Linked DNA regions of Homo sapiens: all the other regions are linked to region 2. Evidence: promoter capture Hi-C in 16 types of primary human blood cells and fetal thymus (Javierre and others, 2016). All regions are on one chromosome and are shown on one strand. Each heading gives the region's core, a stretch centred on a gene start or on the middle of the fragment in contact. The rest is flanking DNA. Distances are from core to core; before and after follow the strand shown.

Region 1 (3,960 bases), core at 153-2,652, 370 kb after region 2:
CTGCAACTTTTGGCTCCCAGGTTCAAGCAATTCCCTTACCTCAGCCTCCCTGGTAGCTGGGATTACAGGCACATGCTACCATACCTGGCTAATTTTTGTATTTTTAGTAGAGACGGGGTTTCACCATGTTGGCGAGGTTGGTCTCGAACTCCTGAGTTCAAGTGGATCCACCCGCCTCAGCCTCCTAAAGTGCTGGGATTATAGGCATAAGCAACTGCGCCCGGCCAGGGCTTGTATATTCTTATCCCCACATTACAGATTACAAAACAGGAGCTCACAGCTAGAGCGGGAATTTGAACCCAGAACTTCCAGGTTGCAAGCAGAAGCCCACATTCATCTGTTTCTCCCACCTGCTTCACTGGTTTGGGGACTGTGGTCCTGAAGCTCCTCAGGATCTCCTTTCTGTCCCCACCTGTCTGCGCTCCTGCCCCTTCCTTCTTCATCCTTGCCTTGCCTCAGGGCAAGGGAAGGCTCTGAGCCTGGCAGCAGTATCCCTGGGTCCTCACCTGACCCGCCCTTGCCCAGCTGTGATGTTCTCTCCAAGCCTCTCATTTTCTGTCCTTGCATGGGGAGAGAGGAGATGCTCCTCCCTACGTGGGTGGCTGTTGGGATCCCCCGTGATCGTGTGCCTGGCCACGGGGGAAAAGGATCAGGATCGTTGATGGTGGAGGCAGCAGGTGTATCGCCACAAAAGCAGCTGACCCAGCCTGTGATCCATGCCTCCAAACCTGCTCTTTGCCAGTCAGCTGAATCCGTCGGCCTCACTTCATTCATGGCATTAAGTTAGCCTTTTGCCCACCTCTAGGAGGCCCTTGAGGAACAGTGGAAACCAGGCTCAGCAAGACACTTGGCTGTTGGGGAGGCAGCAGGCCATGGCTTTGTGGGGCCAGGCTCTGGGGCCAGGCCCTGCCACTTAAGGCTCAGTGATCTTTGGCCATTTGCTCAATGTCTCTGCATTTCTGTTCCCCTAAAATGAGATAATGCAGAACTCACGAGCTGGTCAAGAGGGTTTACTCAAATAACCCGGCCAGGTGCTACTGGTGCACAGGAAGTGCTCCACACCTGTGTTCATGGAAGGCTGGGGAACAGAATGGAATGTGTGCACGTTCCGTCCCTACCTGACTTTTGCAGGGAGGGGCTGTGAAGCATTTGGCCGCTCCATCACCAGGCCAGCAGGGGTTATCTGCCTCTTTCTTGAGGTGGTATTGGCCACGTGGGCCAGTTCACCACTGGTCTGGCAAGTTATGGGCCTGGGAATAGGAATGCCTCCAGCCCCAAGACAGGTCTGAGGCTCAGGAAGTGAGCTCAGCTGTGGCCAGGCAGTTCTGAGGGGCTCCCCCTCCCCGGGCCCGGCCCTGTCTCTGCTCCGCCTCCAGGACCCACCAAGAGAGACCTGTGTTCCCCTGCAGAGTGTGCCTGCCACAAAAGAGCCAGAGCTTGTCCATGACCCTCGGCTGACAGGCTGCCGACGTGTCAGCCTAGTGCCTGCACCTCCTCCCTCTCCGGCTGTTTGGACCTTTCCAGGCGACTGTGCACCTCCCTTCCCTCCAGCCTAGAACATAAACACGGGATCGAGTAACAGCATATTTTGACTCTGGGGCGACTGTGGAGTGGCTTATCAAATTATCAAAGCCTGTGGATTTAATTGGAATTTTGTAGATAACCCCTGGCTTCTTTCAAGTGTGCTGCTGCAGGGTCCATTGAGAATTCATGGGGGCTGGGGTGGGGGACCGTCTTCCCTTTCCATCTTCCAGAGAAGACAAGGTCTGTCACAGCCCAGACTCAGTGGGGGAGGTGGGCAGCAGGCCTGAGCGCCTCGGCTTTGATCCCAGGCCACTCGCTGGCTTCTGCAGGCGGAGAGCCAGACCCATCTCCGGTCAGTTAGTGGTTGCTCTTCCAGACCACTGGCCCTGCACAGAAAGGATGTTCTTCATGGACACCTTTGATGAGCCTGGCACAGAGCAGCCATGGTGGTTTTGCCTCCTCACACGGAAGGATAATGGGATTTGCGCCCTTATGAAAGAGGCTCCAGCAAGGCCCTTGCCCCTTCCATCATGTGAGGACACAGCATTTGCCCCTTCTGCCATGGCAGGACACAGCTAGAGTGCGCCATCTGTGGGGAACCAGCCTTCACCAGACACCAAATCTGCTGACACCTTGATCTTGGACTTTACAGCCTCCAGAACTGTGAGCAATAAATTTCTGTTTTTAAGAAATTACCTAGTGTGGCCGGGCACGGTGGCTCACGCCTGTAATCCCAGCACTTTGGGAGCCCAAGGCGGGTGGATCACCTGAGGTCAGGACTTTGAAATCAGCCTGGCCAACATGGCAAAACCCCATTTCTGCTAAAAATACAAAAATTAGCCAGGCGTGGTGGCACGTGCCTGTAATCCCAGCTACTTGGGAGGCTGAGACAGGAGAATTGCTTGAACCCAGAAGGTGGAGGTTGCAGTGAGCCGAGATCGCACCACTGCACTCCAGCTGGGTGACAGAGCAAGACTCCATCTCAAAAAAAAAAAAAAAAAGAAAGAAAAAAAAAAAGAAAAAGAAATTACCTAGTGTAAGAAGGTACTCTGTTATAACAGCCTGAACAGACTAAGACGCTTGCTGTGTTTATTGTTGGCCCCTCCCACTAGAACACAGGCTCCAGGAGAGTATGAACTTGTCTTTGTTCTGTTCACAGCTGTATCCCCAGCACCCAGAACAGTGCATGTCCCAGAGCAGGGTCTCAGAGGGTCTCTGTTGGATGAATGATTGTTGTCATTCAGCCCTCACTATGGTCTTACATGGTAAGTACGACTGTGACATGATTTTACCAAGGAGCTGAAGGCTCAGGGACATGAAGCCACTCACCTGAAGTCACCCAACTGGCAGGTGCAGGGCCAAGATCCAAGCCAGGCTGGCTGGCCCCAGACCTACGGTTCTAACCACAGCCCTGACCCAACCCATCACTCAGCTCACACCCACTACGCCTTCCCAACCTCGTCAGCACCCGCTCCCCACCTCCACCCCAGCCAGAGTAGGTGGGTACCGGCCTCAGCCCCTTTGATGTTTTCCTTTGAGGATGGTGTGTGTCAGTCTGTTCAGGCTGCTGGAACAGAGTACCATAGCCTGGGTGGCTTATAAACAACAGAAATAAAATTCTCACAGTTCTTATGAAAGAGGCTGGGAAGTCCTAAACCAAGGCACCAGCAGATTCAGTGTCTGGTGAGGGCCTGCTTCTTGGTTCATAGTCATCTTTACCCTGGTGGACAGGGAAACAAGCTCTCTGGGTTCTCTTTTATAAGGCACTGATCTCATTCATGAGGCTAATGACCATAGCCTAATCAGCTCCTACTATATCACCTTGGGCGTTAGGATTTAACATATGAATTTAGGTGGGACACAAACATTTGGTCCCTAGCAGTGTGTTCTTGGAAAGTCAGCAGTTGAATAGGGGTGTATGTGCGTGTGTGTGTGTGTGTGTGTGTGTGTGTGTGTGTGTGTCCTGATTGGGGGGAGGGAGGGGAGCAGAAAGGGAAAGGAAGAGTGTTTGCCTTATTGTATTGGTCACCTCCTCTGTAGTCTACATCATGCTTATTTAAATATTCATTTAAATATTAGGCCACCCACGAAGGTGATGTTATTATCCCCATTTAGCAGATGGGGAAGCGAAGTTGCTAGCAGTTACCTGACTTCCCCAGGCCATGCAGCCAAGTGGGGAGGCAGGCCTTGGAGCCTGGGTGCAGTTCTGTTAGGCCCCTCCAGCCCCCCAGCCCCCAGCCCTTTGCCCTGCAGTCATAAGGGGTCAATGGGCAGGGGTGGGCAAGAGAAGCTTGATGTAGTTTCTTGGTCTCTCCTGTGTGAATTGCTGGGGAGCCATGTGACAGCTTGGGATGAGGAGACCCTTGGTCACCAAATCCCAAAGAAGGCAGATAAAGACATGCCCTTGGCCCCGTGCGGTGGCTTATGCCTGTAATC
Region 2 (3,934 bases), core at 1,075-3,574:
GATCTTGCTCTGTCACCCAGGCTAGAGTGCACTGGCGCCATTATAGCTTACTGTAACCTTGAACTGCTAGGCTCATGCAATCCTCCTTTCTCAACCACCCGAGTAACTGGGACTGCAGGTACATGCCATCATACTCAGCTATTTTTTTTTTTTTAGTAGAGACAAGGTCTTGCTATGCTGCCCAGGCTTGTCTTGAACTCCTGGCCTCAAGTCAGTATGCTTTCTTTATAATAGTTATCATATTCTTGCAGTTGCTCTTATAATATATATATATATATAATCTGCAATTATATATTGTACGTAACTGTTATAGGCTGAATAATGTCCCTCCAAAATTCATATGTGAAGCCCTAGCCATTAGTACCTCAGTGAATTTATTTGAAGATAGGGTCTTTAAAGAAGTAGTTAAATTTAAGTAAAAAAGGAGCCCATCAGGGTGGACTCTAATTCAATCTGACTGTGTCCTTTAAGAAGAGGAGATGAGGACACACAGAGAGAGACATCAGGGATGTGCATGCACAGAGAAAGGCCATGTGAGGATACTGCAAGAAGGCGGCCATCTGCAAGCCAAGGAGAGGGGGGTCTCAGGAGAAATCAAACCTCCTGACACATTGATCTTGAACTTCTGGCCCACAGAACTGTGAAAAAATAAATTTGTGTTGTTTAAGCCACCCAGTCCGTCGTATTTTGTTATGGGAACCCTCACCGACTAATACATTATGTAAGGCCTGTCTTCCTCCATTAGACTGTGAACTCCATAAGCAGAGGGACTATGTTCATATTTCACCACCAAACTCTTAGCACATAGTTTAATGTCTGGCTCCAAGCAGGAGCCAATATATTTTTGTTTAATTCTTGAATTCATGAATAAAGAAATAAATGATGCAGGGGCATGTCTATTTTATGCTGAAAGCTCTGTGTGTTCTGGGTTCTTCAGTGTTCTTCTACTATGAAACTGACGGAAGACATATTGAGTATTTATTTGGGGAAGGCAAGAACATCCTACAAAGCAAGTGTCAAATTCTGCATAATTGAAAGGGTTCTGAAATGCACGACTCCAGTGTGGAATATGGGCAGCTTAGGAGCAAGAGCCCCACAGCTGTTGTTGTGGTCTGCTACCCTTCCATGGGATGCAGTGCCCACAATAGCAAGGTGCAGTTGCACATCGGTGCTATGCTGTAAGGGCCCCACTGCTCCCCTCCAGTATCTTAGGATAATGCCTCAGAACTGGGAATCCCAGTGTGATGCTGGGTCCCAGGAATGTGCTATGGCCTCAAAGGACTGCCTGAGTGAGTTCCAGGTTCAGACTTCCCATTTTACCAACACCAAGTGTCTCAAGCTAGTCTTTAGGCCCCCTGGGAAGCCAGATGCTATCCAGGTATTCATAAGAATTATCCTGATTGATGCAAGTTGACCCTCTAGGGAAATCTAAAGGTCCCCAGGATGTACTTGGAGTTGCAGGACATCTGGGAGCCCACACATGTCTTTAGGTGTATGGAGACTATGCGGTCACCTGATTTGAAGGACAAGAAGGTCCTTATCCCTTCCCAACAGCACCTCTCTCCATTATTAGGTGGCTAAATGCCTAAAATTCCATCACTAACATGTCACTCTTTTAGGTCAGCATCACTATATCTGGTTGCCTCTTTTGTAAAACGAACCCCTACCCCACCAATTGCTCAGTACATTCAGTCATTAGCATATTATGAATTAGTTCACCAACTATTTTCTCCAGATGGGCTTGACCTGGCTTGAGTCACAAGAGGGGAAAGAGGACAAAGACATCTATAGGGGAAACAAGACAAAGGACACAGGACACAGGAACAGAGGACGAAGACATCTATAGGGGAAACAGATCTTGAATATAAATCCTGCCAACTTCAGTTTTTCTAGGGCTCAGGCAGTATGACCACAGGCCATCCATGTGCCTAGACCATGCTCATCCATGAGCCCATCCACGTGCCTAGACTCATGAATCATGCAGTGGGATTCCAGTACCCATGGCACTGAGGAAGGGTACTGCCACAAAGTTGTGGCAGTTCTCCAGCTGTAGAAGGTAGGCAATAAAAAAGCATTTCCTTTATGCTGGTCCTTTGTTTCCTTTTCCCCATGGGCCTTATAAATAGTTAATCTACCTAAGCTGGAAGGAGAAGCTTTCTGCCTCCAGTAAAGTTTGATTCCTGGAGGCAGATTTTTTTTTTAAATCCAGCAAGTGTCAGATAATTGGAAGGGTGGAGTAACGCTGTAAACCATGACACACCTTTGTCAGGACATGTTTGGAAGCAAAGAGTTGAAAGAAACAAGGTGGAGAGAAAGAAAAGTGAACATTTTTGAAAGATCACTCAGCTTTAACACACCTTGGCTGGGTCTGGATAAAAAAAAAGTGAGCACTGCAAATTTCTAGAAGAAAACATCAGGAGAAGAAAGAGAGAGGGGGATTTATTCAAAGTTGTTTCCAATTCCTTCAAAACCTCAAACCAGGTAAGTAAACAGGAAGACTGACCTTTCTCCTTTTCTCTGAGACTTTGATTTAAGGTTTGCCATTTAGAAATTAAATGTTTATTGGAGAAAAGAAGATGAAGTTCTGTAGTTTCTAGCATTCTGGTTAAAGTGATCAATTGGTTATAAAAGATGACTTTGGTGTATGCATTCTGCTTAGGGTAGGTCTTTCAAAGGAAATAAGTGGGGAAAAGGAGAAGGCTGAAGGCTGGTTAAAATATAGCGGGCTTTAGAGGCAAGACCTTTCTGCATTGTTTTCAGCATTGTAAAATGACTTGTGTTGTTTTATTTAGAATATGATACGGGCTTATAATTCCTTCTCTCCCAATCTCAGTTTCCTCTCTCGCTATCTTGCTCTCCTCTTCCCTCTGTCTCTCTCTCCACTGGACGAAGAGAACAACTCAGGGGTGAAGTTAAAGTATAGGTAAGGGGGCCTTCTAGAAACAGTCCCTGTGCTGACTGGGCCTCTCTGATTAAGCCATACATGGTAAACATTGCTGTTTACCATGCTGTAAAATTACCTCTAATCTAAAGAAAAGTAGGATCTTTGAAATGATCTGATTAATTCAGAAATTTTGCAGGATCAAACTTAGAGGAATAAAAAAAGGAAGAAAATTGTTTCCCGTATATATACTCTTACGAGTCAACTTGGGTTTCCTCCTGCCAAAAAAATTCACTTTGAGATGAGAATTACCAGTTTAGATACCTAAGTGGATGACGTTAACTGGTAACTGACAAATTATCACTTTACTTTTTGAAGTGGAGGCAAAACCTCTGGCACATTCCTTCTTTTGAGAAGTAGTTAATCAGTAGTCTAATAGTGGACTTGTAAAACGTAGCAAGATTTTTAAAAGGTATTTATTTGAAAAGCAGAATAGTTTCTTCTTACCTCCATATGTTCTCTCTTAGAGCTAAGGCACAGATCTGTCAGAACTAACCTAAGACAGATGTCTATCCCCACACAGACTCACTCCAGAGATTCAGAGGTGTCCTGCTTTACTCTTAGGCCCTGCAAAACACCCACATGAGTCTGATCAGAGTTTACACAGGAACAATTAAAGTGAACAGCTCTGCTTCAAGCTTGCATAGAAACTTACCAGCCTGGGTAACATGGCAAAACCCTGACTCTACAAAAAATACAAAATTAGCCAAGCATAGTGGTGTGCGTAGTGGTGCACACTCATATTATACTAACCCCATCTCTACTAAAAATACAAAAATACAAAAATTAGCTGGGTGTGGCGGTGCATGCCTGTAACCCCAGCTACTTGTGAGGCTGAGGCAGGAGAATTGCTTGAACCCAGGAGGCAGAGGTTGCAGTGGGCCAAGGTTGTGCCACTGCACTCCCACCTGGGCAACACAGCAAGACTCCGTCTCAAAAAAAAAAAAAAATAGGAAAAAAACTCCTTAGATTGGTGAAACTGACCTGACCTAA
Region 3 (3,781 bases), core at 218-2,717, 400 kb after region 2:
AGTGTGTGATTGCATAACTGGGGACAGTAGCTTAGCCAGGTTGATGTGTACCACCTGACCATCATACCTGTCAAATGGGGTTGTTATAGTAGCAGCGACCTGGCTTGCCCCAAAGTGCACAGGGTTCAAGGAGGTGATGCCCTTTGAGGGGTTTTGTGCTGTGCCTGGCAGTAGGAAGGGCCTGTTGTTGTTAGCTGTTGTTGCTTCCCCAAGGTGGGCACTGCTCCAGGAGCCCCAGTGGGGCTGGAGCAGACTCCCCAGAGCAAGGGGTTCTCTTGAGACCTGCAAAGATCTCATGCCTCTCACCCAGTTCTCTAAAAAGCTGCATTTCGCCAGGGCACCTAGCCGGGAAGTTCTGAGATGCGCCACTAGGGGGCACAGGTGGCCACGGAGCCTCGGGATTGTCAGGGCCCTGGGGCTGTTGTCAGGAGAGCCTGAGGGTTCATCCAACCCAGGAGTCCTGTGGAAGCTCCAGCTCGTTTACATGCAGATGAGGTTGCTCAAGAGTGTTGTTACAAGCTTGTTCTCTTAGGCAAGTGTTGATGTTCCTCATGAAATCCTGTTTACTTTATTCTTCTCCTTGGAAAAGTGGTGAGCTCAGCCCCACTTCTATCTCAGTGATCATAAAACTGTATTATTAGCTGAGTTCATGAGATCAGCATTAATGTAGTTTCACTGCAGAGAAGCAGTGTTGCCTGGGGTTGACAGTTTAGGTTTTGGCAACAGGAAGACAGGGTTTGAACCCCAGCTCTGCCATTTGTTATTGCCGTTTTAATTATTGATAGATTAAGAAAGAAGGGGAGAAGTTGGTCTTTGAGTTGAGACATTTATTTCCATTCTGTGAGACCCAGGAGGGGACGACAGGGCGTAGACTCAGCCATTGCTGAGTATTCCGTTGAGTTAAAAACGTGGACTCTGGAGCCAGAATGCTTAGTTTCATGTCCCGGCTCTGCCTGCTGTGTGATCTTGGGCAAGTCCTTCTCTATGGCTCATTTCTTCACCTGTAAAATAGGGATAATCAGGTTTTTTTCATGGGGTTGAGGATTGAGTGAAAGTTCCTGAAGTGATAACTCCAGCACCGTGCCTGGCCTAGAGGAAGCACTAAGGGTGAAGCAGCTTTTACTATGAATAGGAGGCAGCACCGGAGGGGTTCGTCTCAAACAGGAGAGAGCGCTGGTTTCAGCTTTTGCCCTTTCTCCGGAGTGACTCCTCAATCAGACAGGGGGAAGGTGGGGTGTCCACTATCTCATCATTGCCAGGAGCCTCCCTGCAACAACCAGGGTAGGTGGTCTTGTCCCATTTTATAGACCAGGAAAGGGAAGTTAAGGAACTTGCCCCAGGTCAGCCAGACACAGGATTCTCTTTTTTTTTTTTTTTTTTTTTTTTTGAGACAGAGTTTTGCTGTTTGCCTGGGCTGGAGTGCAGTGGCACAATCTCAGCTCACTGCAACCTCCACCTCCTGGGTTCAAGTGATTCTCCTGCCTCAGCCTCCCAAGTAGATGGAATTATAGGCGTCCGCCACCATGCCCAGCTAATTTTTTGTATTTTTAGTAGAGATGGGATTTCACCATGTTGGCTAGGCTGGTCTTGAACTCCTGACCCCAGGTGATCCACCCACCTTGGCCTCCCAAAGTGCTGGGATTACAGGTGTGAACCACCATGACTGGCCTTTTTTTTGTTTTTGTTTTTGTTTTTGCTTTTTTGAGACAGGGCCCCAGGCTCTGTCGTTCAGACTGGAGTGTGGTGGCACAACCACAGCTCACTGCAGACTTGACCTCCTGGCTTCAAGCAATCCTCTCACCTCAGCCTTCTGAGTAGTTGGGACTACAGACATGCACCACCACGTCCAGTTAGTTTTTGTAGAGACAGGGTCTCGCTATGTTGCCCAGGGTGGTCTTGAACTCCTAGGATCAAGTGACTATCCTGCCTCGGCCTCCCAAAGTGCTGGGATTACAGGTGTGAACCGCAGCACACAGCCTAATTTTCCTTTTTATGAGTTTGGTTTTTAATAAAGTGAATTTGCTTAGAGCAAGACCCGCCCATAAGTTCTGGCCACTATTAAGGGTTAGTCTATGGCCGGGCGTGGTGGCTCGCTCCTGTAATCCTAGCACTTTGGAAGACCGAGGCAGTTGGATCTCCTGAGATCAGGAGTTCAAGACCGACATGATGAAACCTCGTCTCTACTAAAAATACGAAAAATTAGCCGGATGTGGTGGCCCGCACCTGTAATCCCAGCTACTCGGGAGGCTGAGGCAGGAGAATCACTTGAACCCAGGGGGCGGAGTTTGCAGTGAGCCAAGATGGTGCCACTGCACTCCAGCCTGGGTGACAGAGTGAGATTCCGTCTCAAAAAAAAAAAGGGTTAGTCTACCTGAAAAAGTTCCTCTATTCTCCTCCTTTTATAGAGGAAGCTTTTAAGAGAGGGATGGCCACTTGCCCAGGGTATGGGGTGGGCAGAACCTGGTCTTCTGCTGGTCAGCACTCCCACCAAGCCCTGGAACCAGGTGGAAGTGTGAGGAGGGCTGTCAGGTGGAAGTGTGAGGAGGGCTGTCCTGAAGCACAGGAAGCCGGTCTGTGAGGTCTCTGGTACCTCCCTTCCCCGCAAGGTAAATACCTCAGCAGGGCACTAGCAGAGCTGGGCTCTCTGGCCCTCCCTGGGCCTGCCCTGCCCAACCAGCAGCAGAGGGAGATGGAGGGAGACGAGGCAGTGGCAGCAGGCCTCCTCCCTCCAGAGCGCAGGCTTTGTGAGGCTTTCACTTCTCTTAATAGTTTGTTGGCTCCTGGCCCCATGGAGTGCACAGCTCAACTGAGAAGGTGGGACCTTTTCAGGGATTCATTAATACTAGGCAGGATGGCTTGGGATCTGCAAGGTGGAAGGAGGGGTGGCTGGCCATTGTGGGAGAGGCTGGAGATGGCCCTGAAGGACAGAGGAGATTGTGATGGGCTGAAGGGTGTGGGTAGGGCACCCTGCAGGAGGGACAGCCAGGCATGAGTAAGGATGTGGAGCTGGAATGAGTTTTTGCTTTTTTGTTGTTGTTGTGGGTTTTTCTGGTGTTAATTTTTAACATGGGGTCTTACTTAATGGCCCAGGCTGGAGTGCAGTGGTGCGATCAGGGCTCACTGTGGCCTTAAATTCCTGGGCTCAAGCGATCTTCCCACCTCATCCTCCCAAGTAGGTGGAACCACTGGTGTGCCACCATGCCTGGCTTATTTATTTATGTAGGAGACAGTCTTGCTCTGTCACCCAGGCTAGAGTGCAGTAGCCCAATCTCGATTTACTGCAACCTCCGCTTCTCAGCTCTCGTGCCTCAGCCTCCCAAGTAGCTGGGACTACAGGCACCCGCCACCATGCCTGGCTAATTTTTTTGTATTTTAGTAGAGATGGGGTTTCTCTGTGTTGCCCAGGGTCGTCTTGAACTCCTGAGCTCAGGCAGTCCACCCGCCTCAGCCTCCCAGAATGCTAGGATTACAGGTGTGAGCCACCATTTCTAGCCTTTATTTTTTATTACTGATTTGTTTATTTATTTGGTAGAAACAGGGTCTCGCTTTGTTGCCCAGGCTGGTGTTGAATTCCAGGCCTCAAGTGATCCTCCTGCCTCAGCCTCCTAAAGTGTTGGGATTACAGACGTGAGCCACCACACCTGGCCTGGCATGAGCTTGAAAAGTCTGAGGGAAGGAGAGGGGCCCATCATCCCGGCAGGAGCGAGGGTAGAGCAGGAGATGAGTCTGGAAAGGAAGTCATGGAGAGTGTATCATAAGCAAGACCTTTTAAAGCAATTTC
Region 4 (4,169 bases), core at 586-3,085, 380 kb after region 2:
CCACTGTGCGGGTCACCAGCCAGGTTTCTTCCTGTTGGACATTCTCATGCCAGCCCTGAAGTTGTGACCTCCCTAAGGAAGAGTCTAGAACTCAGTGATGTCATTTGGGTATTTCTTTCTTTCTTTTTTTTTTTTTTTCTTTTTGAGACAGAGTCTTGCTCTGTCACCCAGGCTGGAGTGCAGTGGCACGATCTTGGCTCTCACTGCAACCTCCACCTCCCAGGTTCAAGCGATTCTCCTGCCTCAGCCTCCTGAGTAGCTGGGATTACTGGTGCACACCACCACACCCAGCTAATTTTTGTATTTTTAGTAGACAGGGTTTCACCATGTTGGCCAGGCTGGTCATTTGGGTATTTCTGACCCTGAGTCTTTGCCTTCGTTTTACCTTTCTCTTCACCACCTACTCCTCATTTAGCTTTTCTGTCTGGATTTTATGTGTCCTTCTTAGCCACAAGGTGGTAAATGAACAGTGTGGTGGTTAGGATTTGAGCACTAGACTGAGCCAGGTTGGCCTCCAATCCCATCTGTATCCCTCACAAGCTGTGTTACTTTGGGCAAGTCACATGCTCTCTCTGATCCTCCATTTCTCATCTGTAAAATGGGGATAGTAAGGGACTCTGCCACACAGGCATGTAGTGAGGATAAAATGAGCTGATGTGTGTCAAGGGTTTAGTTTAGCACCTGGCATAATGTAAATGCTTGACAAATGTAGTGCTCTTGTCAATAATAGTATTAATAATAATAAGAGCAGCACTACCACTCCCACCTTTGGGTAAGAAGAGCTCACTCACGGTGGGGAGAACTGCTCAGTGGTGACTCCCACCAAGGCCTGGCCCACGCCCGCCCTTCCCTCCCCCTGTTTGCCACCATACTTTGGGGTTCATGGGCACAAGCCTGCTCCGGGACCTCGGGGGCTTTACCTTGGTGTAGAAGCTCAGGAGAGGTTGCTTGGTGGAGGATGGAGGTGGCGGCCCACGGCTGGCCTGCTGGGACCTGTAGTGGACAGGCTGGTGAGCAGGCAGGGCCCTCACTGTAGTTGCAGCTGAGCTGGCCCAGGAGCATTCAGGGTTGACAGGAAGGCAGCTGGAGAAGGCTGGGAGCATGGAGGTATTACCTAGGTATTACCTAGGGTTCCTGGATGGCCCCCCTGCTACAAGCAGGACACAGGCTTGTCCTGTGAGCCTGGAGCTGGAGGCCTCTTTGCAAAAGCCCAATCAGGGAAACTAAGGCACAGAGAGGGCTGCCACCACCCAGGTCATGCTGCCTGCTCAGACAGCCAGGCCTGGAACCCATGTCTCGGGCCTCACAGGCTGGGATGGCCCTGGTTTGGCATCTTACAGGACTCCTCCCTAGACCCCGTCCTTTACATGTATGCTCTGGCAGACCCTGGGGAAGCCCCCAGGCCGCCCTGCACCCAGGCTAGCCCAGGAGCCACCCATCCCTGGGCACACAGGCCCTTGGCCAGGAGCCCGTTTGTCCTGCGTTTTGAGTGCCTGCTGTGAGGAGCATGGCAGCCACTGCCCTCTGTGGAACAGGCTCATTAAGTCAGCCTCTTGGTCCAGCATCGAGGGGGATCCAGACTTGGCTGTCACTCCTGTCGCCTCTGGGGAGACCCGTCAGCCTGGCAGCAGCAAGGGATTCTGGGGGAATGTGAAAGTGATAACAGTCATTCAGATGGACCTGGAAGTCCCCAGCTCTGCCACCCCCAGTGCTGCCAGCCACCAGCCACCAGTGTGGTCTCAGCAAAGTGGCTTTACCCTGCAGAGCCTGGGTTTCTTCATCTCTGTACAGACACCCCAAGCCTTGCTCCCCCCTCCCCCTGAGGCCAGCCAGGCCCGTGTCCCTGCTTCTTCCCATGCTGCTCCTCCTCCAGTGGCCACCGCCCCCACCTTCCTGGCTCCTTCTCTCAGTGCCCTCCTTTGGCCAAGCCCATTCTGTCCCAGGTGGTTCTGTCATTTCCCCTGCAAGTCACAGCTCTTCCAGAGTCCCTCCCTCTCCCCTCTCGAGGGTGAACCAGTGCTGGCAGCAGGGCCCTGTGACTGGCAGGTGGAGCTGGAGCAGGTGGAGGATCTGTGTATGCGCTCCCTGTTACTGAGCCTGACTGTGCACGGGGGACTTTATGTGTATTAACTTGTTTATCCCCCAGCAATCCAATTAGGTGGATCATTTCAGTCTCTGCACTTTATAAATGAAGACAGAGACCCTAAATAATCTGTCTGGCAGAGCTGGGATTTGAACCTAGGCAGCTACACACACACAGAGAGACACATACACACACATGCACACACGCACCATGGGAGCCAAGCAAACCTTCTGGCCATACCATGTCAGAGTCTGGACTGTACTGTCCAATAAAGTAGCCAGTAGCCACGGTGGCTCTTTAAATCTAAGTCTTAATTAAACAAAATGAAAAATTCAGTGTTTGAGTCATACTGGTCACAATTCAGTGTTTGAGTGCTCAGCGCCACTGTGGCCAGTGGTACCATACTGGACAGGACAGATAGAGACTATTTCCATTACCCCGGAGAATTCTACTGGACAGCTCCTTTGAGGGCACCACTGTTGGGGACAGAATTGGAACATTCAGTGCTATTGGGGGTCAAAATCAGAGTGGGCTTTCTGGAGGAGGTGCCCCTTCCTTAGGCCTTGAAAGTTGTGAAACACTAGGCAGGGCAGGAGGGGGCCTGTGGTGGTTGCAGCACAGACAACCGAGTCTGCAGCCTTGCCTCCCATTGCAAGCTGTGTGACACCAGGCAAGTGACTTAAGCTGACTGAGGTGCATCTGTAAAATGGGGCTAACGCAGCTGCCTCTGTTGGGCTGGGCACATCTGGCTGCTTGGTGCTTGTGGGTTTGTCACATGGTGTCTAGGAAAGTCTGGGAGGTTCAGGTTCCTTCACTGTAAGAGGCGATCACCCGGGCCTCCCAGGGCCATGCAGGTGGGCTAGGTGTGTGGGAGGAGTGTGGGGCCCTCCGAGTCCTCTTTCCCACAGAGGCCAAGGCAGAAACAAGCACAGCCTGACTTTGGGTGGGCTCCTTGGCCTCCATGGGAAATAGGGAGCTCCTTGGCCCAAGCTCCCAGTCTCAGGTCGAAACTAGGCCAGGGCTGGGGAGTTAGGGGCCATCAGCCAAGGATCGACCCAAGAGGTCTGTGCTCTGCAGTGGGGCCCTGGTATCTGCCCGTGTGTCACACACACCCATACACACACGTGACACAGAGACCAGGCACATGTCTGCAGATGGGGCCAGTGTAGCTTGAGGGGCAAAGCAGTCCTCTGGCTCCCCCGACACAAGTCCTCACCCCACCACCTGAACAAGGGAAACCAGAAGGAGCTAGAAATGTGATCCTCAGGCACAGAGCTGGTGCCACAGCCTTCAGGGAGAATCTCTCTTTAGGAATACTGCCGCTGGGTTGTTCTCAGCAACTTCCTTCTAAAATCTGAGCTGCTTCCTCTGGGGCTCAGTCCAGCCCCAGCTGCCTGTCCTGCTCCCCCAAGACATACAGCCTTCTTGCCCTCCGCACCCAGCATGCACACACACACACACACGCACACACACAGGCTTACATCTGTTCCTGCCCCTGCACCGTTGCTCACACCATCCCTTCCACCCCAAATCTCCTTCCTGCTTCTGCTCTTTTTAAACAGTCTTCATCTTTCAAGGGCTAGCTCTAGTGCCCCATCTTCCACATAGCCCTCCCTGACCACCCCAGACCACTCTGATCTCCCTGTCCTGGAAATTTCTATACAGTGTTTCCTTTGACCAAGCTTTGGGGCACCTGATCACAAGGGAACTTGTATGTTGTCTTTTCGTGGGTGTTTGCCATCTCTTTCCAGCTAGATGGACAAAAAAATGAAAAAGAGGGCAGGACAGTGTGTCTTCTGCCACTCTCTTACTTCATACACAAGACTGGGTCTACAACAGACCTTCAGTCAAGATGTGGATGGATGGTGGATGAATGATGGATGGATGGATGGTGGATGGATGGTGAATGGATGATGGGTGAATGGTAGATGAATGATGGATGGATGATGGATGGATGGCTGGATGATAGGTGGATGGATGATGGATAGATGGATGGATGATGGTGGATGGATAGATGGATGATGGATGGTGGATGGATGATGGTGGATGGATAGATGGATGGATGGATGGATGGTGGATGGATGTT
Region 5 (4,171 bases), core at 1,282-3,781, 510 kb after region 2:
CCTTGGGGCTCCCTCTGAGTCTTCTCTCCTTTACAGTAAATAACCCCTTTAGGATCAAGATCCCCAACTAAGGCTGAAGTCCCCTTCCTGTTTCAGAGTGGGCTAGGGAAGGTATTCTGGACGACACAGGAGTTGACCTGAGCTGAAACACAGGAGGGTTTGGGTTGACAGGTGAGAAAACTGTTAGCAAACACCTGGTGAAGAGCAGGAGTGGGAGCGGGAGGAGACAGACTGAGGAGGGCCCCAGGGCTTGCTGTTGCCCAGAAAGCCACCCGGCCCTGCCATACGCTGCCAGCAGTGCAGGGTAACCAAGGCAGGACCTGGGCGTGGGGGACCTCAGGGCAGGCCGGGGCCTCCTTTGAGGCAGAGCTTGCCGTCAGCCTGAGAGTCCCATTTGTTGACGTTCTCACATCCGGAGCACTGGCTAATCTGTAACCACAGGTCAGCCTGCAGCCGCCTGGCTTGCTAGCAGGTATCTGCTGGCCCCTGTTTGGGAGGCGCTGCCAGCCCTTTACTGTCTCCACAAACATCCTCCTGCTGGTCCGCATCTGGCACGGGGCATGGGAGGGAGCCGGGAAGTGCGGGTGCCTGGCTTAGACAGGCAAGGGGGTTCTCCACCCCTCCCAGCACCCACCTCCACCCTCTCCCTTTAAACCCAACCATGGGAAATTTAGGAGAAACAAACATGCTTTCTGGGGCTCACAGAGGGAAGGGCAGAACATCCTAAAATCACTCACAGTCACAGACTTTAAGATTCAGAGAATCTTCAAGCCACGGGATCTCATAGATTTATAGAATCATCTGGTCTAGTGGGTCTCAAACTTTTTTAAAAAGCAGTGGAATCCTTTTGTCCAACAGAACCCCAAGTTCTGGCTGAAGTCTAGGAGGTGGACCTAGCACCTATCCCCTCACCCTCTCTCTGGCCTTCTCTGCAGCCTCCAAGACACCTCTGTGGAACCCCAGTGTTCCAAGGAACCCAGCTGGAGAAGCACAGATCTTGTTCCAAGGAGCAATTTCGATTGCATGGTTTTCCTTTCAGCCCGATACAGAGACCTGGGTTCAAGGCTCCCTCTTCTAGTTGAAGAGCTGGTTTGAGGGGTTGGCTTTTTTGGCCGTGGAGGGCGGTGTCTTTAAATTAGGTATTCCTTTTTAACCTAAAGACAAAAGCCCTTCTCATTTGTGTAAATGCCTTTCCACATCTGTGAGGTAAGTGGGGTGTGTATAATTATGCCCAAATAATGAGGAGGCTGAAGCACAGAGAAGCTGAGAACTGCCCAGAGCTAATGAGTGGCCAAGTCAAGCCTTGATTCAGTGGGTCTCCTGCATCTTAAATGAAGGCATTGTCCCCAATACTGCAAGGCCCGAGCTCCTCCCTCCACATACACCCCACCCTGAGCCCCACCACTCTCTCCAAGGCCCCAGTACAATCTCTTGGGCCCAAGAGATGCTAGGGGCAAACATGAGATTGCCTTTCTTGTAAGTTAAAAACAGTCCAATACTGGTGATTACATATGGTTCAACTTGATATATATTCATTGTGGTAGAAAACTAGAGTGCACAGGAATAACTGAACCAGACAAAGCCCTCGGGAGCCTCCGGGGAACTATAAGGCAGGCAGACCGACCTTCCCCACTGAATCTGGCATCCTGGGCGCTGCACTGCCCCTCTTCCTTGTACCAGCACTGCTGGGGCCCTGGTGGCCTATCTGTGCCCAACATGTGCAGTTGATCCTTGATGCCTTGAGCTCTTGTAAGCTCGACTCTGGAAGGCACAGGAGGGCCACTGTCCCCGCTCTTGTCGGGTATCCAGACCTAATAGGGAGATCAGATGGACTCACATCTAGAGAAGCTGGAAGGTAATGTAGCCCAAGCTCCTGGGTTCAAATCCCAGCTCCACCAACTGCCAGCTGTGTGACCTTGGGCAGGTTATCAGACCTCTCTCAGCCTCTGTTCCTTATCTACAAAATGGGCACAATAATACCTTCCTTTATATACAAAGAGGATATATGCTGGATCTTTAAAGAGCAGGACAATACATGACTCAAAGCTGCTTATACCACTTAGGTCTCCAAGTGCTTCCGATGGTCAGGAGGAGGAAGGGTCATTTTGAATGAGGGAGGTCTGGGAAAGCTTCCTAATGGAGGGGAGGGTTTGGTGTGGGGCACTGATATAGCTGGCAGAATTTGGGGTAAGCAGAAAGGAAGCACCAGAAAACCCTCTGAAGCAGAAGGAAAAGCAAGATTTTTTTCTTAATCAAAAAGAAATGAAAATCATCAAAGAGGAAGAAATCATGATCGGCAGCCTCAGCTGTTTCCCCCAGCCCAACAGCTGGCTCAGGCTCCTTAAACTAATATTTGCCTCTTGGCCCCTAGCAGCCACAGCTGAGGGTAAATATTGGTTTAGCCTGGGAAGCAGAAGGCCCAGATGGCAGTGTGGTCCTCGGCTGGGGATCACTCATGCTCAGCACCTCCAAGCTGAGGCACACCCTGGATAGGGGACCTGACCTAGGCCCCTATCTCCAGGGGGCCTGGAGAACCCACCCAGCAGCACATGACCCTTGGAAGCCCATCCTGAGAGTCTCCATACAGCTCTCTCCTCAGTAGGCAGGCGTGGGTCTTTTACCAAGACCTGGGAACCTGTGCATGGCAAGGGATGGAATAGAATGCATAAGCCCTCGGGAGCCCCCACCTCATCCCCTCCTAGAACCCTCCCGGACCCAGCCCCACCATTTAGATGTGTTGATAGCCTCCTCCCTCTGACCTTACTCCCAGATCAGCCTGAGAGATCTGGGTTCCAGGCCTGGCCTGGCTGATGAGCAGCTGGGAGAGTTTGGGCAGGCCTCTCCCCATCTCTGGGTCTCATACTTCTCCACTGTCAACCAGCCAGTCCCTCTTACTGAACAACTTGACAGCACAAAAGCTGCTGGAAGCTTTCAGCTCTCATGGCTCTCTCCCCTGTGATGCATACACATACCCACACCTGTGCACACCCCTCACCTCCACAAGTCACCCACTACCTTTCTACCTCATTCCTTCCCCTCCTGGATCTGCTCCCCTACTGACCGCCAATTCCCCACCTCTGCACCTGTGGACACCCCCCTGTCTGACCTAAATTGTTCCTCAACCAATCCATTCTTTTCACCTCACTTAGTTCCTGACTTAAAACTTGTCTCCTACAGGAAGTCCTCCTGGATTGCTCTCTAGCTGCACTCCCCTCCCACACATACACACAGTTTTACTCTTCAGGTCACACTTGATTGCAGAATTGAACTTGGGCCACCTTGCATCAGTTATATGATGTGTCCCCCAGGGAAAACATTATTCCAGGAGAGGGGCTGGGTTTTTGATTCTTCTGTCTCCCACCTGCCCCCGCTTAGTGCCTAGGCAGTGGTAGGCACCAAGGGATGCTCTGGAGCACCCTGTAAGTGGGCTCTTGGCCCGCCAGCCAAGTCCTGCTGGGACTCACAGCTGCTCTTCCTGAATTGACATTTCTGAGAGGAGCAAGGAGACCTTGAGATACTGGGATAGGAGCTTCTTTTTCCATGTATTAATCACCCCATAAAACCTGTGTTTATTTAGTTGCTGGCGGGTCCTTCTCCCTGGAGGAAGGAAGCTGTTATTCTTGACGATACCAGCCTGGGCTTGGGCCAGGGCGCCCCAAAGAAAGAGGTGATCTGCAGAACTCCAGCATAACAGGGAGGAGGGCCTGCTGGGGCTGTGGCATGGGCACCATAACAGGGAGGAGGGCCTGCTGGGGCCATGGCATGGGCACCATTGTGGGCTTGGATTCTGGCCAGGGCAGGGAGGACCGTCCACTGGGGAGAGACACCAGCCCCTGCCTCCACTCTGTCTGGGGACACAACCCATCCATGGCCTGACCTGCTTACCTACTATGTGCCAGCTACCCTGGGAAGCCTCTGGTCTAAGGAACAAACACAGAGCAGGTAAGATTGGGAGGGCTTTGACCACAGGCTTCAGACAAAGGGGGCAGGGGCAGGCCTGGCAGAAAATCCCCAAAGATCAGACATTGGTTTGGGGGACAGTCACCCCAGGAAAGACTGGCCCAGCCTCAGAGCCACCAAGATGGACAGCGACTTTCTTCAGAAGAGAGACAGCAGCGGGGAGAAGGACACCAAGACCAGGGAAAGCAAGAAGGGTGAGAGGATCTAGGTC
Region 6 (4,124 bases), core at 1,362-3,861, 350 kb after region 2:
GGCAGGCCCAAGGGCACTTAGAATAAAACCAAACTCTTTTCTGTGGCTGCAGGCTCCTCTCTTTTCTGTCTTCCATCATGTCCAGTTCCTTCTGCCCCAGGGCCTTGGCTGTTGTAGTTTCCTCTGGCCAAGCCCGCTTGTTCCAGAGCTTTGCACAGCTGCTTTTTCTCCTTGAAGGCTCCACTGAAGCCCAGAGAAGCTTCCTTGACCATTCTCTAAATTCTTCTCTAGGCACCCCTCTTCACATTACCCTGTGTTATTATCTTTGTAGAGATGGGGGAAGACCTGGAAGTATAACCAAATTACTCAATAGGTATGAAAATGTGTACTGCCTTCTTCCCGTGCCCACTCCCTTCCCAATTGGAAGGTAAACTCCTGAGAGCAAGGCCCTCATCTGTCTGGTTCACTGCTGTGCTCCCAGCGCCTGGAACAGAGCCCAGCACAGCAGGCCTCCATCAAGACAGTGCTGGGTGGATCAAGGGAAGGAAGGAAGGGTGGAAGGAAGGAAAGAAGGAAAGGCAGGGGGAAGTCTTCCAAGAATGAATGGCGTTCCAAGTGGCAGAAAGACAGGGAAAAAGGAGTTGTACATGCATGCATAGACACTGTGAGTGTGAAGAGGAGAGGCTGCCAGGAATAGATCAGCCTGCTCAGACCAGAAGAGGTCCCGAGGCCAGCCCTCTCTTACGGCTCCTATAATCAGTGCCCTCTTATTACCTCTACAAATGGGTCCTAGTTCATGGAGGTAGCTACCAAACTCTTCATGGCTGGTGTGGGGACCCTGGCCAGTGGTACTGTGTCTGGTGATTCTACTTGAGGCCCCAGGCCCTGGCTCTCATGGGAGTCCATCCCATAGGTACCGCTTTCCCAAGAAGAGCCCTGGAGGCTGTGGTTGGTTTGGGGGTTTAACTGTTCTCATCTCCCTTCACATGCAGAATAAAATCCAAAGTCCTCACGGTGGCTCTCAAGGCTTGACATGATCCAAGTGCAAAGATCATGGCTCCCCCACACTCTCTAAGCTTTAAAACCCCAGGTTGAAATCCCAGCTCAGCCACTAGATAGCTGTGTGACTTTGGACAGGTCCTTCAACCTTTCTGAGCTGCCATCTCCTCTAGGACAAAATGGGCCTGGTTAAAGTACTTGCTTCAAGGTTGTTGCGAGGATGAAGGGAGGGAATTCAGTGAAAAGCTCTTAGTGTGCACCAGGTGTGTGCTGAGCGCTTAGCTACCATTAACCCTTTCCTCCTTCCTCCTCTGCCCACTAACGTCCCCACTGTCAATCAATCTTAGGGCTTCCAGAGGTAGCAGCCATAGAGCCCAGGCCTCCGATGAGCACACAGCAGTCCCAGTGGAGAAGGGACCTGTTTCAGGGTCACACAGCCAGCCTGTGGCCCAGGTAGGACTTGAACCCCAGACTCCCACCGGAGGCCCCCACTCCTTCGCTGGTCTCACCCCAGCCCAGCCCAGAGTGGCAGGAAGAAGGACCTCCAGTTACTGCTTAGACGTCGCAGCTGCACAGCTTCTTCTCCGCTTTCAGGACTGAGTTAATCCTGATGAGTTAGGTCTGTCTCATGCCCCGTGCAATCTTCCTTGCGATGCTCATCAGATTCCTAGGGCGGCATCTGGATGGCTTTGAAGACTCTGGCAGAAGCTGAGCCCTGCCGTCAACGGGCTGCACTATATTTACAAGAGGCCTTTAATGCCCTGTGGTCCCGGCTTCCTTCATGGGGATTTTCCTCCCCCTCCTTTTTCTCTCCCCCTTTTTATACGGTCACCGGTTTGGCTTTCAGAGTGTGGTTTGGATTCCTAACAGAGAAGTCAAGACCGGAGAATCCCTTCCAGGCCCTCCCTCTCTCCCTCCCTCTCTCCCCCACTGGCCAATTGTGCCAAAGCCCTGGGAAAAGAAAACGTTGCTCCTGTCAGGATTTCAGCGGGAAAGGGGGAAGCCCCATTGGGCTTCCAAAAACTCAGCTGGGAATTGGCTTGTGCAGAAATTCTCCTCTGACCTTGCAAGTGAGCAGCAGATCCAGGAGCCTGGTGGGGAGGACTGGGCAGCCCCAGGCACAGTGGCCCGGTGGCCTCACTCAGAGTGCAGACTGGAGGGCAGGGCGGGGTCCTGTGCTTGGGGCCAGCATGGGGAGGAGTCAGGAGCACCCTCTCATCTACCTCCCCACCCCAACCTATCCCTCCCTTCTCTGGATCTCCTACACCTGTGGAGGCCTCAGTGCTCCTTAACTAGTTTTTAAAATGAGTTCTTCCCAGCACTTTGGGAGGCCAAGGTGGGCGGATCATCTGAGGTCAGGAGTTCGTGACCAGCCTGACCAACATGGAGAAACCCCACTCTACTAAAAATGCAAAATCAGCCGGGTGTGGTGGCACATGCCTGTAATCCCAGCTACTCGGGAGGCTGAAGTAGGAGAATTGCTTGAACCCGGGAGGCAGAGGCTGCAGTGAGCTGAGATCATGCCATTGCACTCCAGCCTGGACAACAAAAGTGAAACTCCGTCTCGGGAAAAAAAAAAAAAGAGAGTTCTGTCTGCAACTAGGACAGGAATGATCTAAGCCTCAGCCAGAGCTTTGGCTAACCTTGAGATTGGGGGCTGGGAGAGGGACCCCATTTATCTTCCCATCTCCCTGCTTTCTTTTTTGTCCCCCAACAGGATGAGAAAGGGCGGGAGTGCATTTTTGGAGGCTGAGGCCCTGCTCCATGCAGGTTTGTGGGCCCTCCCCCACCCTCCTGTGGTCCCCCTGGGTTTCCTCTGTATCTCAGACAGTCCTTCAGGGTCCTGCTCATACGGCTGGACCGCTGGTGTCACTGGGTCTGGGCATCCCTCAGCTTCTGACAAACAACTGCCTTCATTAGAAAGGCCCAGAATTCCAGCCCCAGGGCCACCCATCTTCTTGGCAGTCCTGAGCTCAGGTCACCTCATGTTTTTATTTTTACACAGCCTCCCCCTGGCCTCACACATGTAGCCTGTGGCATGTGAGCAATCAAGCGACAGGCAACCAAAAAAGGGTAGGAGGCAAAGAGGCAAGGAATACCGAATCTGTGACATCTTCCCCCAAGGAACAGCGGCGTCGCCAGTGTCTGGATAAATCACGTTTTATCTCCTTTCGAGAGGGACGCAGGGCAGAGCCGCTTCATCTTGGTGATGTCGTCTGTCTGCACAGTGTTGTCCATCTGACAGGGAGATGGCCCGGCCCTCTGGCTTCAGAGAAAAGATGATGAAGGAGAGCTTGAGCAAGAGTCCAGGAGAGGAACAAGAATGACCCAGCAAGCACTCATTGAGCATCTGCTGAATGCAAAGCCTAGTGCTCCATGTAGTGTGGGGGCAGACAGGAGGGGTGAGCTGCAGAGCCATCATGGAGAGATGAGAGATATCCACGGGAAGCAGGTCACATGCAATAGGATGCAGTTACACGTTCCACTGTCTGACTTCAGCAGGGCTGGCGACCAATGCTTGTGGTGGCAGGGAAGTCAGGGGTGGCTGCAGCTGGGGTTTTCATGGCCCCTGGGTCCCCTGTCTGTTCACTTCTGCCTACCAAAGGCTGCTCACTGGAGCCACTAGGGCCTTCTACCTCAGGGCTTTGTCTAGCCATGGGCACACACTCAGCCAGATGTGCTGGAGTTAACGCCCTCAGAGGCAGTCCTCAGTGACAAACAGGGAGTTGGTGGGTAGATCCCCAGCCTCCACATGTCAGGTACATTCTCTGTCATCTCCTGGAGCCCCCCAGCAGAATTGAGCTCTAGTTGCCCACCATGATTAACTGGCCTGATAACACTTCCTTCCCCTCCCTGCCCTTACTGTCCCACTCCCCTAATGATATTTCTTGGGATCGCCTCCAAAACAAGTCAAATCCTTGTTTCTGGGGCTGTGTCTGGGGGAATAATCTAAATCAAGGCAATGGCTTTTCTGAGTACTTCACTCGGACCTTGACAGAAGCAGCTGGTGTGGATTCATATGCAGTCTACCTGTCTGCTCACATGCAATGGAAATGATCTAAATTGGGTGTCCTTTAATTCAAGTTATGAAAACCCATCTTCAACTCATTTAAATGAAAAAGAAAATGGTATTGTTTTATGCAACTGAAAAGTACCAGGTGGACCCTGGTTTAGGAACAGCTACC
Region 7 (4,060 bases), core at 1-2,500, 330 kb after region 2:
ATGCCTAAATGTCCTTTTACAAGGTTGGATCCTTTCCCTCCATGCTGAGAGAGTACAGTTATACCCTGGTGTCCCCAGGGTTGGTGCTTCCAGCCAACTCATACTCCAGCGTAGATGGCAGACTGGATGGTTACTGAGACCAGGGTTGATAGAGGTGAGAGGGCAAGTGGGCAGCTGAGGCTAGAGACAGAAGAAGGTGCTAGGCCTCAAAGGCCTGTGTGGAGTCTGGAGAAGGGGCTGGCGGGAGCTTGCACGGAGCAGAGGAGACCAGCTGGGGTCCTGGAGAGGCAGGTGAGAGGGCAAAGGTGACTTGGCCTAGGCTGGGCCCTGGGTGGAGGGAAGTAGACTGAGGTCTGTCTTAGAAGGACAGCCAAGAGGCCATGCTGATGGATTGGAGGTGGTGGGGTGGGGTCGAGGATGACTGCCCATAGCTCTGTCTGGGCAGCCCTGGCCAAGATGGCAGAAGGAGTGTTTCACCTCACCACCACTCCCCACTCCTGCCTGTGGGCTGCATCCGTGGGGGTGAAGGGAAAGGACTTCCTCCCTCCTCCCTGAGGTGGCCGAAGCCTTTGGAGCATATGAAAGGTGCTTTGTGGTGGGCAGCCTCCCTCCCCAGGAGCCTCTGGGCACTGGGCACTCTGGTTTCTGGGTCCAGGTTTCACTGAGGGCTCGGGAGTGGCAGCAGCGGGTGATGGTGGTGGAGGGGAACACTGAGGCGCATTGAGAAGGAGCTCCGGCCCCCAACAACTTCTTAGGAGGTGAGGGGCACTGGAAGAGATAAACTCCCACAGTGTCCCTGGCCTAATCCCGCACACTGCCCTCCTGGGTCACTCCAACTGGACCCAGGCCCAAGGACAAAGCCCCAAGCCAGAGCTCTTCTCTGGCAGGGACTGAGCTGGCTCTAGGCATCACCTGTGTGAACTGATGTATCATTCATCCAGGGCTGCCTGGCACCCAGCAGATCCATCGTTCTGGGCGCTGAAAATACCTCCTCCCCCTTCACCTCCACAGTTCCCAGGACTGATGTCCACTGAGGAGGCCCCAGGATGCCAGGCTGCCCAGCCTCCAGACCACAGTTGGCCCCAGGGGACTGGCATGGCCTGAAGATGGAGCCCGTTCATCTGAATGTACCTTCAAAAGGGAAGGGAGGAGGCAAATGTGGAGGGTGGGGGTTGGCTGGCAGCCTCGCCTTTCTCTACCTGTCAGGGACAGGGTGGCCTGGCGACACCCCTGCAGGCTTCAACTGTCAAGATCGAAGCTCGTGTGAAGGAAAGGGGCTAGGTTTATGTTTCTCCCCAGGCCCAAACAGGAGAAGCCAGATTTCGCCTTAGTGAGGACACATTTGGGTGGATCTCAGAGAGAACTTCCAGGGACAGGAAGAACTTCTCAGCGGGTAGGGGGTGGTTCTGAGCAATGACTTTGGGCTCCTGCAGATCTGGTTCATACCTGGGCTTTCTACTTAGTGCTACTTGCCTGAACCAAAACTCTGCTATTTTCCGTGGCTGAGATGGGTAGCTATCGTACTTCCACACTGGAGGACTTACAGCCAGACAAACCTGGGGTTCAAATCCCAACTCAGCAGGCTCGGCATGCTGTCTCACATCTGTAGTCCCAGCTACTCAGGGGGCAGAGGCAGGAGGATTGCTCAAGCTCAAGAGTTCGAGACCAGTCTGGGCAACATAGTGAGACCCTGTTTCAAAAAATAAAAATTAAAAGAAATCCCAACTCAGCCTCTTCATAGTTGTGTGACTCTGGGCCAGTTTTAATCAGTTTAATTCTGAAGCTCCATCATAATCCCCATCTCTGAAATCCCTTCAGGGTTATTGAGAGCATCAAATGAAATGTCATCTGAAAAGCACAAAGTAAGCCCTCAGCACACGATTGTGATTTGGTAATTTTTAGTATCAGGTCCCTAACAAAATTGTGAGCTGTCTCTGGGATGGTTTGAATGCAGCCTCCTAGAATCCCTTCCAAGAGTGAGGTCTCTTCTCAGGAGTGCGGTCCCACAGCCTTGTGTGTTTTAAGGATTGCTGTTCAAAATGTGGTCCTCAGATCAGCAGTGTGGCCATCATCTGGGAGCTTGTTGGAAATGCAGACACTTGGCCTCCCCCAAGATCTGTAAGTCACCGTCTGCATTTTAACATGCACAGGTGATTTGTGTGCACCATAAAGTTGGAGAAGCAATGTTTGAAGGTCCATCAGAGCCCTTCTACAGGAGGTCTACTGTGTCTTTAGGGCTCTCTTGGTGCTTGGTTACGTTCAGTTCATTCACATAATACAAACAACTGAGCCTGCAATGAATCCATTTCTGACTCAAAGTAGAGGTGCATGGGGAGACAAGGATTTACAGGGGTAACTTGGTGAGGGCTGGTTTCTTGGCCTCACATCCTTACATACACCTGAGCTGCCTGCCTGTTTCTGGTATTCTGTGGGAGGGAGTCGTGAGTAACAGCCCTCTCTCCCCATCACTAGCCCAACCAGGAGGATGCTCAGGTCCCAACCACACGCCCTCATCAGATATAGATCAGAACATTCTCTCTCCCCTCCCTTCCAAGATGGGGTGAAGTTTTGGGCCAAGGAGATTGCTAAGATTTTTATTTTAGAAGTTCCCTGATTGGAGATGGGCAAGACTGGCTCATGAACTCTCTGTGGTTTTGAAGATAGGGTGGCATGAGAACGTCTAAAGCCTATGTCTGGAGTTACGTCGTACTGTTAGGATGGAAAACAGGCTCTTGTAAGATGTCTCTGGAAAAAGTTAAGTCAACAAAATAAAGTGAAGCCAAGCATGGTGGCACACTCCTGTACCAGCTACTCGGGAGGCTGAGGTGTGAGGATCACTTGAGCCCAGGAGTTTGGGGTTACAGCGAGCTATGATCATGCCACTGCACTCCATCCTGGGTGGCAGAGTGCGACCCTGTCTCTAAACAAAATTGGTTTTAATTTCAAAAAAGAAAAAAAAGTGAAATTTGAAAGGAGCATATTTTGCTCTTCTATATAAAATAACCATTGCAGACCTAAGCTTCAAAGTAAAGGAGCCAGGGAGGAGAGTTGAGATGAGTGAGTGACTGGTAATTTGGTGGCCAGGTAATTCTTCTCTGATTGGCACAGTTTTTACTCCTGGCCTCTTGTTTCTGATCTGAAAGACGAATTAACCAGTTTAATAGTTGGTAGTTGGTGAAGATGGCTTAAGTGAGACCTATGTGGTCTTGTTACCAGAAAAACTTGCTGGTGAAAGACAGAGGGTGGAGCAGCTGTTCACGATGTGAGCCCAGTGGTCCAGAGATAACAATTCGTTGAATTGGCTGTAGGGAAAAAGTTGCAAACAGCTTTCTAAGGAACTTTGTGTGAGGCCTGGAATTTCAACAAATTAAACTATTATAAATGAGAGAGAATGTCTGCTTAAGGATTATAGCTACTACTTATTAAGCATATACTTCTGCCAGATACTGTGCAAAGGATTCATGTGCTTATGTTGTCTCATTTAATGACAAGTCTACTTGACACATGAAGACTCACAGGCTAGAAGGGGTGCATGACTTACCCAAGGCCACTCAACTAGTAAGAGGCAGAGCTGGGCTTCAAACCCAGTTCCCTCCACTTCCAAGCCCAAGCTCTTGATAACTATTCTTTTTTTTTTTTTTTTTTTTTTTGAGATGGGGTCTTGCTCTGTTGTCCAGGCTGGAGTGCAGTGGGACAATCTCGACTCACTGCAACCTCTGCCTCCTGGGTTCAAGCAATTCTCCTGCCTCAGCCTCCCAAGTAGCTGGGATTACAGGCGCCCACCACTATGCCCGGCTAATTTTTTTTTTTTTTTTTTTTTTTTTTTTTGGTAGAGGCAGGGTTTCACCATGTTGGCCAGGCTGGTCTCAAACTCTTGACCTCAAGTGATCTGCCCACCTTGGCCTCCCAGAATGCTGGGATTACAGGCGTGAGTCACTGCACCCAGCCTTTGACCACTATTCTTTATGTCCTTGCCACAAAGTGGGATTGACCAAAGATGTACTGTCTGGAGATTAACAGTTAAGATTTGGTATAAAATGGCAGGTATGTTGCCTGCACC

Evidence for each region. Contacts are between HindIII fragments. The CHiCAGO score rates a contact against its expected background, and 5 or more counts as called.
Region 1: a fragment that was not itself captured here is called in contact with the fragment with the promoter of COL17A1 in region 2 in 11 of 17 cell types (activated CD4 T cells, naive B cells, naive CD8 T cells and 8 more); the score reaches 8.9 in activated CD4 T cells.
Region 3: a fragment that was not itself captured here is called in contact with the fragment with the promoter of COL17A1 in region 2 in 3 of 17 cell types (naive CD8 T cells, total CD8 T cells and activated CD4 T cells); the score reaches 6.3 in naive CD8 T cells.
Region 4: a contact is called between a fragment that was not itself captured here and the fragment with the promoter of COL17A1 in region 2, in 9 of 17 cell types (total CD8 T cells, activated CD4 T cells, naive CD8 T cells and 6 more). The highest score is 12.1, in total CD8 T cells.
Region 5: a contact is called between a fragment that was not itself captured here and the fragment with the promoter of COL17A1 in region 2, in 1 of 17 cell types (naive CD8 T cells). The highest score is 5.8, in naive CD8 T cells.
Region 6: a fragment that was not itself captured here is called in contact with the fragment with the promoter of COL17A1 in region 2 in 9 of 17 cell types (M1 macrophages, naive CD4 T cells, naive CD8 T cells and 6 more); the score reaches 7.1 in M1 macrophages.
Region 7: a contact is called between a fragment that was not itself captured here and the fragment with the promoter of COL17A1 in region 2, in 2 of 17 cell types (total CD8 T cells and naive CD8 T cells). The highest score is 6.5, in total CD8 T cells.

The regions. Positions count from the first base shown.
Region 1 is chr10:103,718,287-103,722,246 of GRCh38, reverse strand. The region is part of intron 5 of SH3PXD2A (SH3 and PX domains 2A); the gene reads left to right. Among named protein-coding and RNA genes, the nearest start is that of SH3PXD2A-AS1, 27 kb to the left of the region's middle. The HindIII fragment of the contact is 4,828 bases long and covers 1-3,816 here.
Region 2 is chr10:104,084,270-104,088,203 of GRCh38, reverse strand. It overlaps COL17A1 (collagen type XVII alpha 1 chain), which reads left to right and starts at 2,324. Exons shown (of 56, transcript NM_000494.4): 1 at 2,324-2,481. The HindIII fragment of the contact is 1,426 bases long and covers 2,156-3,581 here.
Region 3 is chr10:103,682,944-103,686,724 of GRCh38, reverse strand. All of the region lies in intron 6 of SH3PXD2A (SH3 and PX domains 2A), which reads left to right. Among named protein-coding and RNA genes, the nearest start is that of SH3PXD2A-AS1, 62 kb to the left of the region's middle. RefSeq lists enhancers at 55-104, 2,735-2,804. The HindIII fragment of the contact is 1,892 bases long and covers 522-2,413 here.
Region 4 is chr10:103,701,974-103,706,142 of GRCh38, reverse strand. All of the region lies in intron 5 of SH3PXD2A (SH3 and PX domains 2A), which reads left to right. Among named protein-coding and RNA genes, the nearest start is that of SH3PXD2A-AS1, 43 kb to the left of the region's middle. The HindIII fragment of the contact is 3,864 bases long and covers 1-3,767 here.
Region 5 is chr10:103,575,242-103,579,412 of GRCh38, reverse strand. The region is part of intron 3 of NEURL1 (neuralized E3 ubiquitin protein ligase 1); the gene reads right to left. Among named protein-coding and RNA genes, the nearest start is that of NEURL1-AS1, 60 kb to the right of the region's middle. The HindIII fragment of the contact is 799 bases long and covers 2,132-2,930 here.
Region 6 is chr10:103,737,193-103,741,316 of GRCh38, reverse strand. All of the region lies in intron 3 of SH3PXD2A (SH3 and PX domains 2A), which reads left to right. Among named protein-coding and RNA genes, the nearest start is that of SH3PXD2A-AS1, 7.5 kb to the left of the region's middle. The HindIII fragment of the contact is 3,185 bases long and covers 1,019-4,124 here.
Region 7 is chr10:103,753,086-103,757,145 of GRCh38, reverse strand. The region is part of intron 3 of SH3PXD2A (SH3 and PX domains 2A); the gene reads left to right. It overlaps SH3PXD2A-AS1 (SH3PXD2A antisense RNA 1), which reads right to left. Exons shown (of 3, transcript NR_038940.1): 3 at 1,737-3,302. Among named protein-coding and RNA genes, the nearest start is that of SH3PXD2A-AS1, 8.3 kb to the right of the region's middle. RefSeq lists enhancers at 1-561, 562-1,219. The HindIII fragment of the contact is 3,542 bases long and covers 1-3,021 here.